Regions from separate parts of the Homo sapiens genome. Here all the other regions are linked to region 3. Evidence: promoter capture Hi-C in 16 types of primary human blood cells and fetal thymus (Javierre and others, 2016). All regions are on one chromosome and are shown on one strand. The core of a region is centred on a gene start or on the middle of the fragment in contact, and the rest is flanking DNA. Distances in the headings are between cores, read along the strand shown.

Evidence for each region. Contacts are between HindIII fragments. The CHiCAGO score rates a contact against its expected background, and 5 or more counts as called.
Region 1: a contact is called between a fragment that was not itself captured here and the fragment with the promoter of MBTD1 in region 3, in 1 of 17 cell types (neutrophils). The highest score is 5.9, in neutrophils.
Region 2: a contact is called between a fragment that was not itself captured here and the fragment with the promoter of MBTD1 in region 3, in 2 of 17 cell types (neutrophils and naive CD8 T cells). The highest score is 6.9, in neutrophils.

What each region holds. Positions count from the first base shown.
Region 1 is chr17:50,701,310-50,704,757 of GRCh38, reverse strand. All of the region lies in intron 1 of ANKRD40 (ankyrin repeat domain 40), which reads left to right. Among named protein-coding and RNA genes, the nearest start is that of ANKRD40, 4.9 kb to the left of the region's middle. The HindIII fragment of the contact is 889 bases long and covers 881-1,769 here.
Region 2 is chr17:50,722,764-50,726,504 of GRCh38, reverse strand. All of the region lies in intron 1 of LUC7L3 (LUC7 like 3 pre-mRNA splicing factor), which reads right to left. Among named protein-coding and RNA genes, the nearest start is that of LUC7L3, 5.0 kb to the right of the region's middle. RefSeq lists an enhancer at 1,070-1,569. The HindIII fragment of the contact is 2,482 bases long and covers 596-3,077 here.
Region 3 is chr17:51,258,715-51,262,160 of GRCh38, reverse strand. MBTD1 (mbt domain containing 1) reads left to right here and starts at 2,112. Exons shown (of 17, transcript NM_017643.3): 1 at 2,112-2,326; 2 at 2,955-3,018. UTP18 (UTP18 small subunit processome component) reads right to left here and starts at 1,615. Exons shown (of 14, transcript NM_016001.3): 1 at 1,235-1,615. The coding sequence starts at 1,576. RefSeq lists an enhancer at 545-594 and silencers at 1,065-1,254, 1,605-1,714, 2,055-2,374. The HindIII fragment of the contact is 12,089 bases long and covers 1-3,446 here.

The DNA.
Region 1 (3,448 bases), core at 76-2,575, 560 kb after region 3:
TCCATTTACAGATGAAGAAACTGAGGCCCAGAAACCGTAAGTTGTTTCCTCACTTTTCACAGTGCCCCTTCCCAAGGTCATAGGATTGACAGTAACTAGTGGAGCCAGAAAACAAACCTGGTATCTGATGCCAGACCTACCCTCCTAAACACAATGTCTGCCCCATAGGAGGTGTTTAGTGAAGTGATTCTGAGGTAGCCTGAAGAGGCTTCTTATAGGTTTTTTTTTTTTTTTTTTTTTTTGAGATGGAGTTTCACTCTTGTCACCCAGGCTGGAGTGCAATGCGTGATCTCAGCTCACTGCATCCTCCACCTCCTGGGTTCAAGCGATTCTCCTGCCTCATCCTCCCAAGTAACTAGGATTACAGGTGTGTGCCACCACGCCTGGCTAGTTTTTTGTATTTTTAGTAGAAATGGGGTTTCACCATGTTAGCCAAGCTGGTCTCGAACTCCTGACCTCAGGTGATCTGCCCGCCTCGGCCTCCCAAAGTGCTGGGATTATAGGCGTGAGCCACCGCGCCCGGCCTCTTGTAGATTTAATTGGAGGAACTGTCTAATAGGCCCCTCAAACTCAACATGTCCAAGATTGAATTCCAAGTCTCCCCTCATCCCTCTACCACCTCAAGCCTGCTCCTCTGAGTCCTCAGCCTCTCAGGAGTGCTCAGGCCAGAACCCTTGGCACCCTGCTTGCCTCCTGCTTGCCTCCTGTCTTTCATAGCCGACATCCAGTCAGCCAATTCTATGAGCTCCACCTTCAGATACAGTCAGAATCTGACTACTTCTCACTAACCCTACCACTACACCTCTGATACAAAGCCACCATTGTTTCTCTTGCTTGGATTATTACAATAGCCTCCTACTAGTGTCCTTGCTCCTAAGCTTATATCATACAGTCTTCTTAATTAACACAGTGGTCAGAGGGATCCTGACTTAAAACATAAGTCAGATCATTTCACTCTGCTCAAAAATGGCTCCTATCTCACTCAGTAAAAGCCTACAGGGTCCTACAATTTCTACTTCCTGTCCCCACATCTTCCCTCCTTACCTCTGTGCTAATCTCATGGGATTTGCCCTTCTGCTTACCTTTTTCCCCTGGCCTCCTTGCTTTCTCTGGAATACCAGACAGTCCTGATTCAAGATCTTTGCGTTTTGTCTTCCCACTCTCTTAAATGCTTTCCCTCCAGATATCACATGGTTTGCTTCCTCACCACCTTCAGATTTTAGTTTAGATGTCACCTTCTTGGCAAGGCTTTTCCTGGGCCCTCAATTTAAAGTTGCACAATGCCCCTTTCCAACCTCTGTCATTCCCTAATGCCTTTCCCTGCTTTACTATTGCTGTCATACTTCATCACCACCTAGCGTACTGCGTGCTTTGCTTATTTATTTGCTGATGTCTGTTTCCTCTTCTGTAAAATGGGGGGAATGTTGACAGTAGTATTACCTCATGGGTTTAGAGGATTAAATAAGTTAATACATGTAATGCCTTTAGAACAATGTCCAACACGTAAAGCATTATACCTGTATTAGCCATTGTTGTTGTTTTCTTATTATGAAGCAATATGCTAGATAATGGAATATAAGGTTACCCTCAAAAAAACGTACTCTCTTGCATTTGCAAAGCAGAATGGTGACTGCTTTCAAGTCTTAGTTGCTCAGTAATCACAATTTCAGCACCAATGAGTGATGCCCTGTTGATGAATGACACCCAGTGCCTCAGGTCTGAAATAGTTTCTGACACTAATAAGATATTTTGACTGCAAATGTAAAGCTTAAGGAGTTGAAGTTCAAAGATAGAGTAATCTATCAATTAGATTGATCACTAATCATTCCCCCACATCAGTTGTAATTCAAGTGTCATGCATAACCCTTGGTTCATGAAGAACTTGAAAATATTACCTGGCTGCAGGGGCTCTGAGTTATGGCTGCCCAGAGCCGCACAGCTCTGGACGGTAAATGATGATCACTAAGGCACAGGGCTGTGGGGGCCACGCTATGTTGACTTAACCCTGCTTTACATGGGTGGTAGTTTAGCAAGTTGGTTTGTCCCAGAGTCTCTCAGACCCACTGGTAGTAAATTACCTCCTTTACTCTCAAGCTTGCCACGAACAAGTGATCTACTACTAGCAAGTGAGCATTTTATTTCCAAAAGGGAGCATATTTTTCTCATCATGCTTCATTCATTTTTGAGGGCTCACTTATCATTATAATTGTTCACTTTTTAAGCCTGTGCCACAGACATCCACACACAAACACACTCAAGGTTCCAGTTTGCCCAGAATCAAGGGTAGATTGGATCCTTCTACTTCAAGCAAGGTCCACTTTATCCTTAGTTTACTCATTTGGTACTTTTTTTTTTTTTGAGATGGAGTCTTGCTGTGTTGCCCAGGCTGAAGTGCAGTGGCACAATCTTGGCTCGCTGCAACCTCCACCTCCTGGGTTCAAGCAATTCTCCTGCCTCAGCCTCCCCAGTAGCTGGGATTACAGACATGCACCATCACACTAATTTTTGTATTTTTAGTAGAGATGGGGTTTCACCCTATTGGGCAGGCTGGTCTCAAACTCCCGACCTAAAGTGATCCACCTGCCTTGGCCTCCCTAAGTGCTGGGATTACAGGTGTGAGCCACCGTGCCTGGCCCATTCAGTAAATATTAATTAATACATGCCAAGCAAACACTTCCTTGCCTTCAGGGAGCTTGATCAAGACTCTTCTCTCCCAAACTTAACGAGACTCTTATTTTTCCCAAATTAGCAATAATTTTGTCATTGCATCATGGAATACACCTTAAAGGAACCTGGATAATCTAATTCTAATGAACCATAATGTAGAATGTCACTCTGAGACATCAATGGAATTGCTCCCAGCCAGCCAGACATGCTAACTTTCTGTAAGTTACTAATGTTAAGCCCAGGGCAAATCAGCTTTTTCCTGGAATCATATAAACTTTCCAAATAATTATACTTCCCAGGTTAGTGAACTAACCTTCAATATTGAACATTTGTTCTAATCTTCATTTCTGTATTTGGCTATAAGAGCTCTGAAGATATGTATCTCAGTTCAGTTAGAGAGTTGGTGAAAGAAGACCTTTCAAAACACAGGCGAAAAGTATTTTCCTTCCATAATATACAGTCAGCTCTGGCACCTAGGGATGGATTTAGTTGCTCTGAATCTTTCATTTCTGTTAAGATGGAGTTTTTGCTGGCATGCTAATTATGTTTCTGTACAGTATTAAAATAGTAGCCCTTCAGAGTGTGCAGAATTGCTTCCTCTGTGTACAATATTGAGTGATTAGTTTTACTTAAATGAGTCTGATATGTTAGAAGAACCTGTTCGTGAAGAATTTTGGTTGTTGATGTATATTTTTTAAGTACCTCAGGAATTAAAGTATGTGTGCAGTGCCTTACATTTACGCAGATGAGGATATGTTTGTAGCCTTCTGGAGAGAACTAG
Region 2 (3,741 bases), core at 587-3,086, 540 kb after region 3:
GGGCGTTATTCAAAGGTCATGGTATTGTACATAGGCCAGGCGCTGTGGCTTACACCTCTAATCCCAGCACTTTGGGAGGCCAAGGTGGGCGGATCACTTAAGGCCAGGAGTTCGAGCCCAGCCTGGCCAACATGACAAAACCCCATCTCTACTAAAAATACAAAACTTAGCCAGACATGGTGGTACACGGCTGTAATCCCAGCTACCTGGGAGGCTGAGGTATGAGAACTGCTTGAACCTGGGAAGCAGAGGTTGCAGTGAGCCGAGATGGCACCACTGCACTCCAGCCTGGGCGACAGAGCAAGACTGTCTCAAAAACAACAACAACAAAAAGCAAAACAACAAGTTTATACGGTATTGCAATAAACAATGATGAAAATACACAAGAACCAAGGGATAATTTTTTACTGTGATATGCAATTTACTTTAGACACCAACTGCTCATGCAGAGATTATCAAGAGTCACAGGTCATAGGGCATTTTAAGTGGAGCCTGGCAACACTTGAGCTCACTGTAATAGCAACAGGTGGCTACAAAATTATTACAGTATTACAGTATGTACTATAGTTAATTTTATGCAGTTATTACTCAAGCTTTACTTTCTCTGGACTGCTAGTGGCACCATGTACTGTGTGCATAAGTTTTTATAAAGTTTAACTTTTTATGATTCGTATGTATTTTGTGGTAGGAAAATGATAAACTAGTATATACATCTATTTTATGTATTTGTGATGTACTTATCTTTTCTTAAATTTTAAAAATATTTCTAAGCTATGTGATTCGTCTTCAAGTTTTTTCAAATTGTTGCAAATCTCCAAAAAATGTTCCAATATATTTATTGAAAAAACTCCACGTATAAATGGACACACTCAACTCAAACCCGTGTTGTTCAAGGGTCAATTTTACTTTTCCCAATGGTAGGATTTATCATATTCTGTTATGGAAATGCGTTTACATTCAATTGGAATAATCCCCATTGGAAAAAAAAAGTGCATTTACTGTCACCAATACATGATGGCTCTTTAGGACCAAGTGCTGTATCTGTACTATCCTGCTGTTATCTACCTAAGAGCAATACTTTTAATTTTTTTTTTGAAATGGAGTCTTGCTCCTGTCACGCAGGCTGGAATGCAGTGGCGTGATCTCGGCTCACTGCAACCTCCACCTCCCGGGTTCAAGCGATTCTCCTTCCTCAGCCTCCCGAGTAGCTGGGATTACAGGCGTGCGCCACCACACCTGGCTAATTTTTGTATTTTTAGTAGAGACAGGGTTTCGCCATGTTGGCCAGGCTGGTCTCAAACTCCTGAGCTCAGGTGATCCACCCGCCTCAGCCTCGCAAAGTGCTAGGATTACAGGCGTGAGCCACCGCTCCCAGCCGAGCAATACATTTTTGTTGGATAAATGAATACAACAATTTTCCTAACTTACTATAAGAAATGAAGAGAAAGGCTGGGCATGGTGGCTCACCCCTGTAATCCCAGCACTTTGGGAGGCCGAGGGAGGATCACTTGTTGTCAAAAGTTCAAGACCAGCCCGGCAAACATGGTGAAACCCCATCTCTACAACAACACAAAAATTAGTCAGGCATGGTGGCATGCACCTGTAATTCCACCTACTCTGGAGGCTGAGGCAGGAGAATCGCTTGAACCCGGGAGGTGGAGGTTGCAGTGAGCTGAGATCACACCACTGCACTCCAACCTGGGCAACAGAGCAAGACTCCATCTCGGGGGTAAAAAAAAAAAAAAAAAGAGAAAATATTTCATAAAACGAAGAACTGTATTAGCAAAAAAGTCAAATTTACAAACTTAAGCTACCTTCTCCTTTTGTGAGGAAATCAAGGCTAATAACATATATAATGACACACACACACACACACACACACACACACACACAATTTTCCTAAAGCAACCAAAGATTTACGAAATACCTTACTATAATTTTCAGTGATTATGGTATTGTGGTTATTTTATTCTATTTTTTTTTTGAGACAGAGTGTCACTCTGTTGCCCAGGCTGGACTGTGGTGGCACCATCTCGGCTCACTGCAACCTCTGCCTCCTGGGTTGAAAGGATCCTCCTGCCTCAACCTCCAGAGTAGCTGGGATTACAGGAATGCACCACTACGCCCAGCTAATTTTTTTATTTTTTATTAGAGACAGGGTTTCACCATGTTGGCCAGGCTGGTCTCGAACTCCTGGCCTCAAGTGATCTGCCTGCCTTGGCCTCCCAATGTTGAGATTACAGGTGACCCACCATGCCCGGTCGGCTATGTTTTTTTTTTAAAGTCCTTGTATTTTACAGATATACAATGACCGCTTTAAGGTTGACAATAACAGAATTGCTTCAAAATAATGGAAGGGATACAGAGGAAATAATATTGACTATGTGCTAATATTGCTAAATTGGGCATGGGTACATGGGGAGTTCAATTTATTATACTATTCACTCTAATTCTGTATGTTTTGGGAAGAAAAGCAAATAGCAATTACATACACATATAACACATGGACTGCTGGCAATTCTGAGAAGCCAACACTTACTATTTTACTATGGAGTAAGGTAGGAAATGCCAGCCGGGCGCAGTGGCTCACGCCTGTAACCTCAGCACTTTGGGAGACTGAGGCGGACCGATCACTTGAGGTCAGGAGTTCAAGACCAGCCTGGCCAATATGGCAAAACCCTGTCGACTAAAAATACAAAAATTAGCCGGGCGTGGTGGCCCACACCTGCAATCCCAATTACTCGGGACGCTGAGGCCAGGAGGTGGAGGTTGCAGTGAGCCAAGATCATGCCACTACACTCCAGCCTGGGTGACAGAGCTAGACTCTGTCTCAAAAAAAAAAAGGGGGGGGGGCAGGGAGCAGGGTAGAAAATGCTTTTCTATCTTACTCCATAGTAACATAGTAAGTTACTATGAACATTTTGGTGACTCTGAATGAAAACTAGTAAAATACATATTAATAGATGCCATCATGCATTATAATTACTAGTTTTTTGCTTTCAATTTTTGCTCCCAAATTCTGAACATTTTTAAAGCAAAAAGAAAAAGTATACAAGTAAAAAATGTGGACAGAAGCTTTAGCTATTTTTCCTTTTCTAAACAACTTTTCAGTGTCAATGACAGTATCTGCTAACATTCCAAAGATTTTAGAAAAGAACATAGTTCAATTTCCTTCATAAATTATTAAACCTTCATGTTAAACCTTCATGGAAGGAAGGGTAGGCTTGAGTTTGATAAATGGAAGAAAACTCATTTCAGATATTAGAATCAGTGTTAATGATTAAGTAATTTCATTTTCAGGTTGAGATCTAGAATATAAAAACCTCAATTTGAACTACAAAATTTCTGTCTTGCTACATAAAAAATAACAAAACTCCCGATCAGACTTTACAATTTACTACAATCTTCTAATAATATGGCTACTAGTGCCTTCTCTGGCTAACACTGAAATCAAACCCTCACTGAAAGGTACTCACCCTAGGCAGTTAGTTACAATCACATGCTTTCCTCATCACTGTGGTTGTTTAGGATTAACCAAGCAATTGCTTAGTGCAAAAAACCAAAACAATAATCTCAAACAATTGCAAAATACAAATAAACACGGTGGGAGGGTGTACCAATGAATCCATGAAACAGTATTAAAGCCGACTTCACTTTAGCTGCAGTTTCTCAGATCCAGAGGTAGCAATCTACAAAGTTGGAAATGCCTGTAAAAGCACTAGCCCCAGTAAAATACCTTGG
Region 3 (3,446 bases), core at 863-3,362:
GCAGTGAGCCGAGATGGCGCCACTGCACTCCAGCCTGGGCGACAGGGCGAGTCTAAAAAAAAAAAAAAATCTAAACCTAGACCACAGAATATCCCTTGAAGTGAGTTTGAGCTTCCCAAAACCAATGATAGAAATGTCCAAGTGGTTTCTACTTGCTCTACTACTAGTCTAATAGCCTTCAAACCCAACAGCTCCCACCTCCGTACACTGTTCCTTTTCCAGACGACAAAACCGTCGCACAGTTCAGCATGTTTCCAGTAATAGTTCTGTACTTCCCAAAAAGATTGCTGCCACTTCTCCTACAAGCACCCGAAGGCGGCTCTGGTAAGCAGCTGACATTAACTAGGTCAGCATTTGTGTAATAAACATGGCCTGGGTAATTCTCGGTGAGCTTTCCTCTGCCCCCTTTATCTAAAATTTCACAGGCCTCTACACACGCCCATCTCCCTTTCCCGAATGTCCTTTTTTCTCTTCAGCACTTGTCACCAACAAACCTGAAGTTTACTCGTTTATCTCCTCTATCTTGTCTCTGCCACTAGCACACAAGCGCCAAAAGGCAGGGATTTTTGTCAGTTTTGTCCATTGCTGTGTCTCCTCCAGTGCCTAGAACAATGTCCGGGACTCTCTCAAGAAAAGCCTGGTATAGAATTTAAAGGGATAGCAAAATGTGTGCAAAAAGTATGATCAATCACGCAGGGTTTGCCATTGCCAGAAAGGGTATCTGGCAACTAACAGGTTCACCAATATTTGCTAAATGAACGGAATACACGATCATTCTCAAAACATGGTGGGTCTCATAGTCACATGGGGACATAGTTACAACGGAGATGCCCAGGCCCGTGCCCACGAATTGATTCCATCAACGAAATCGAATTCCTGAATCACAAGGAACTGAGGCAGGTGATCAAAAGACCACCCTCAGTTTGGGAAGAGGCTAGCGGAGTCGAGCAGCAGCGAAAGATGCTCACGACCACAGTTCGCAAAGCAGATACCCGAGCAGCGGCGCCTCCAGGGGCGGAGAAAGACGCGGTCCCCGCCCTCCAGGCACTTTCAGTCTGGAGCAGGGAGGCGAGGGACCCGCAGCTGCGACCCTCCGCGCCCGCGTTCTCGGGCTCCCTCCCACCTGAGCGCTCCCCGCCGCCGCAGGTCGCCCAGGCTCCGCCCCCCGGAGCTTCACCGCCCACCGCGCGCCCCGCCCGAGTGCGCCCAGCCCGCGCGCCGCGGCCTCCCTCACCCTCGGGCCTCGCAGACGCCGCAGCAACGCGTCCTCGTCGTTCTCGACGTCGCCGAAGACCAGCTCCTCCAAGCACCGCTCCACGGCCGGTTTGTCCTCCTCCAGCCTCAGGCGGTTCCGCTGCCGGAGCCGTCTCTCTTCCTCCGCCGCCGCGACTGCAATCGCAGCGGCCGCCGCGCTCGGCCGGGCCGGCGGTTTCCGCTGGGATGAAGGGGCAGGCTTTTGGGGAGGCCCGCCTGGCCCCGCTCCGGCTTTCCAGTCCGGCCTCATTCCGGGCTTCCGCTTCGGCTTCGCTCCGGTTCTCCGGTCCAGTTTCATTCGTCTCCTCCGCTCCGGCGGCATCGTTAGGTTTGAGGAGAAACGCAGGCGCTCACGTGGAACCTCGCTGCGCATGCGCCCAGGCCCCTCGCGGGCCGCCGCCGCCGAAGCCCCGGGGGCCGGAAGGAGCCTGCGCAGCCTCTTGCCACGTGACCAGCACTCCCTCCCTCTACGTAACTCCCGCTCCCCTACCCAGCCCCGCCCCGTGTGGGAGTTCCTCCGGGAGGGCCAATCTTCCGGGTGTAGGGGGAAGCGGCGTGACTGGAGTGGAAAATTTTTCCAACACAATTTCGCAGCTGCAACATATTGAAAGGAGCGCAAGAAACCCCGACTATACACTGGGACGGCTGAATGGAACTTCTGCTTTTCCTCTTGGCTGTAACCACTTGACTTGACACAAGCCCCAATACGCTTTCCACCCTTCGTCTTGGTACGGTCCTTGGAGTACGGAGCCTGCAGAGGGTCCCACGGTGGAAGCGAGAGAGGAGGGTATGTAGGGAAGTGGGCCAATCGGGGCGCGGGTCACGGCGCAGGCGCGCTGGGGAGGGAGGGCTATGCTAATGTTGTTGATATCCTGGGGCCACCCGAGTTAAAGGGGGGAAATCCGGGGGCTGCTGCACCCGCCACCGGTCTGGGCCCAGCCGGGGGCCCCCTGTAGTCGCCGCAGTCCCGGGGAGAGGCACCTGCCCCCAGCCCGGGGAGGGGGCGCCGCGGGCTCGGGGAGCACGGACAACCCCTACCCATGAGGCCCTGATGGAAAACACAAAGGATCTGGTGAGAGCCGAGCGCGGCAGCCGCTTTGTGTGCCAGGTGGGGGGGACGCCTGCAGCTCTCCGACCCCAGGAACCCCGCAGCTCCCTGACCCCGCTCCCTGGCCTGCTTCTCCATCCCACGCCCTCTCAACCTCCGGAGCCCCCCTCCCCCTTCCAGCCGTTAAACGATTCAGGGGTTCCCCTCCCCCCACCCCGTCAGCCTTGGACTCGTTGGGGTTCTCTCCATCTCCTCCACCCTTTGGAAGAAAAATTCGAGAAGAAAGTTTTTCTCTGCGTCCTGCCCCCGCCCCCTGCTCTGGCTAGGGGGGAAAGGCTGGATCCGAGACTTTTCCTTTTTTAGCCACCCAGGGTGGGAGAGTGGAGTAGTCCTCTCTTCTTGGCGGGGAGGGGGAGCACAGTTTCGTTGCTTTGCAGGGGAAGGTGTCTATCTGCCTTGGGGGCAGTGCCGCGAGGCGGTTTGCACGTGGAGGTGGAAATATTGAAAGGGGGCGGGGTGGGCACGTGCGGGAGAGGTGGGAGTGGTGTTTGGGAAGCAGCCTCCAAGGCTGCATATTTAAAAGGGTTTCAAGTCGGTGGACTTCTGTGACCATTGCGTTCTCCTTTGTGAAATAAGAATCCTAACATTTCAGAGTCGGAAGAGACATTAGAGGTCATCCAAAGCAGCCGTCCCCTCTGCAGCCTCTCTGACAAGTGGTAGGTAGTCTGAACCCTGCTTACACCCCTAAAAGCACTGAGAGCTCACTACTGCCCAGGAAAGCCCATATTTCAGTAGTTCTAATTGTTGTCTGCCTACCCTTATTAGACCCTTCAGTCTCATTCATGTCCTGGTTAAGTTGCTCCTTTTTTTACTTCTCAAATTTTCTCTCACATCCTCCTCACCCACCCACTGCTCATTGGCCTATATTTTGTGTGCCAAGAAAGAACAGCAGGGAAGTGGAGGAAGGGGGGTTGAGAGATAGTGAGGGCTAGCCGAAAACTTTGCTGGGTCAGTGTCAAGTGTGCTGGCTTACATGCCTGAAGATGTTTTTCTACAGGAAGCTAAAGAATTACAATATGGGAATTTCGTGCCTGTTTTCTCTTAGGAGTGCATCTTTTTGAAGTTAGAAATTTCAGCGTCATCT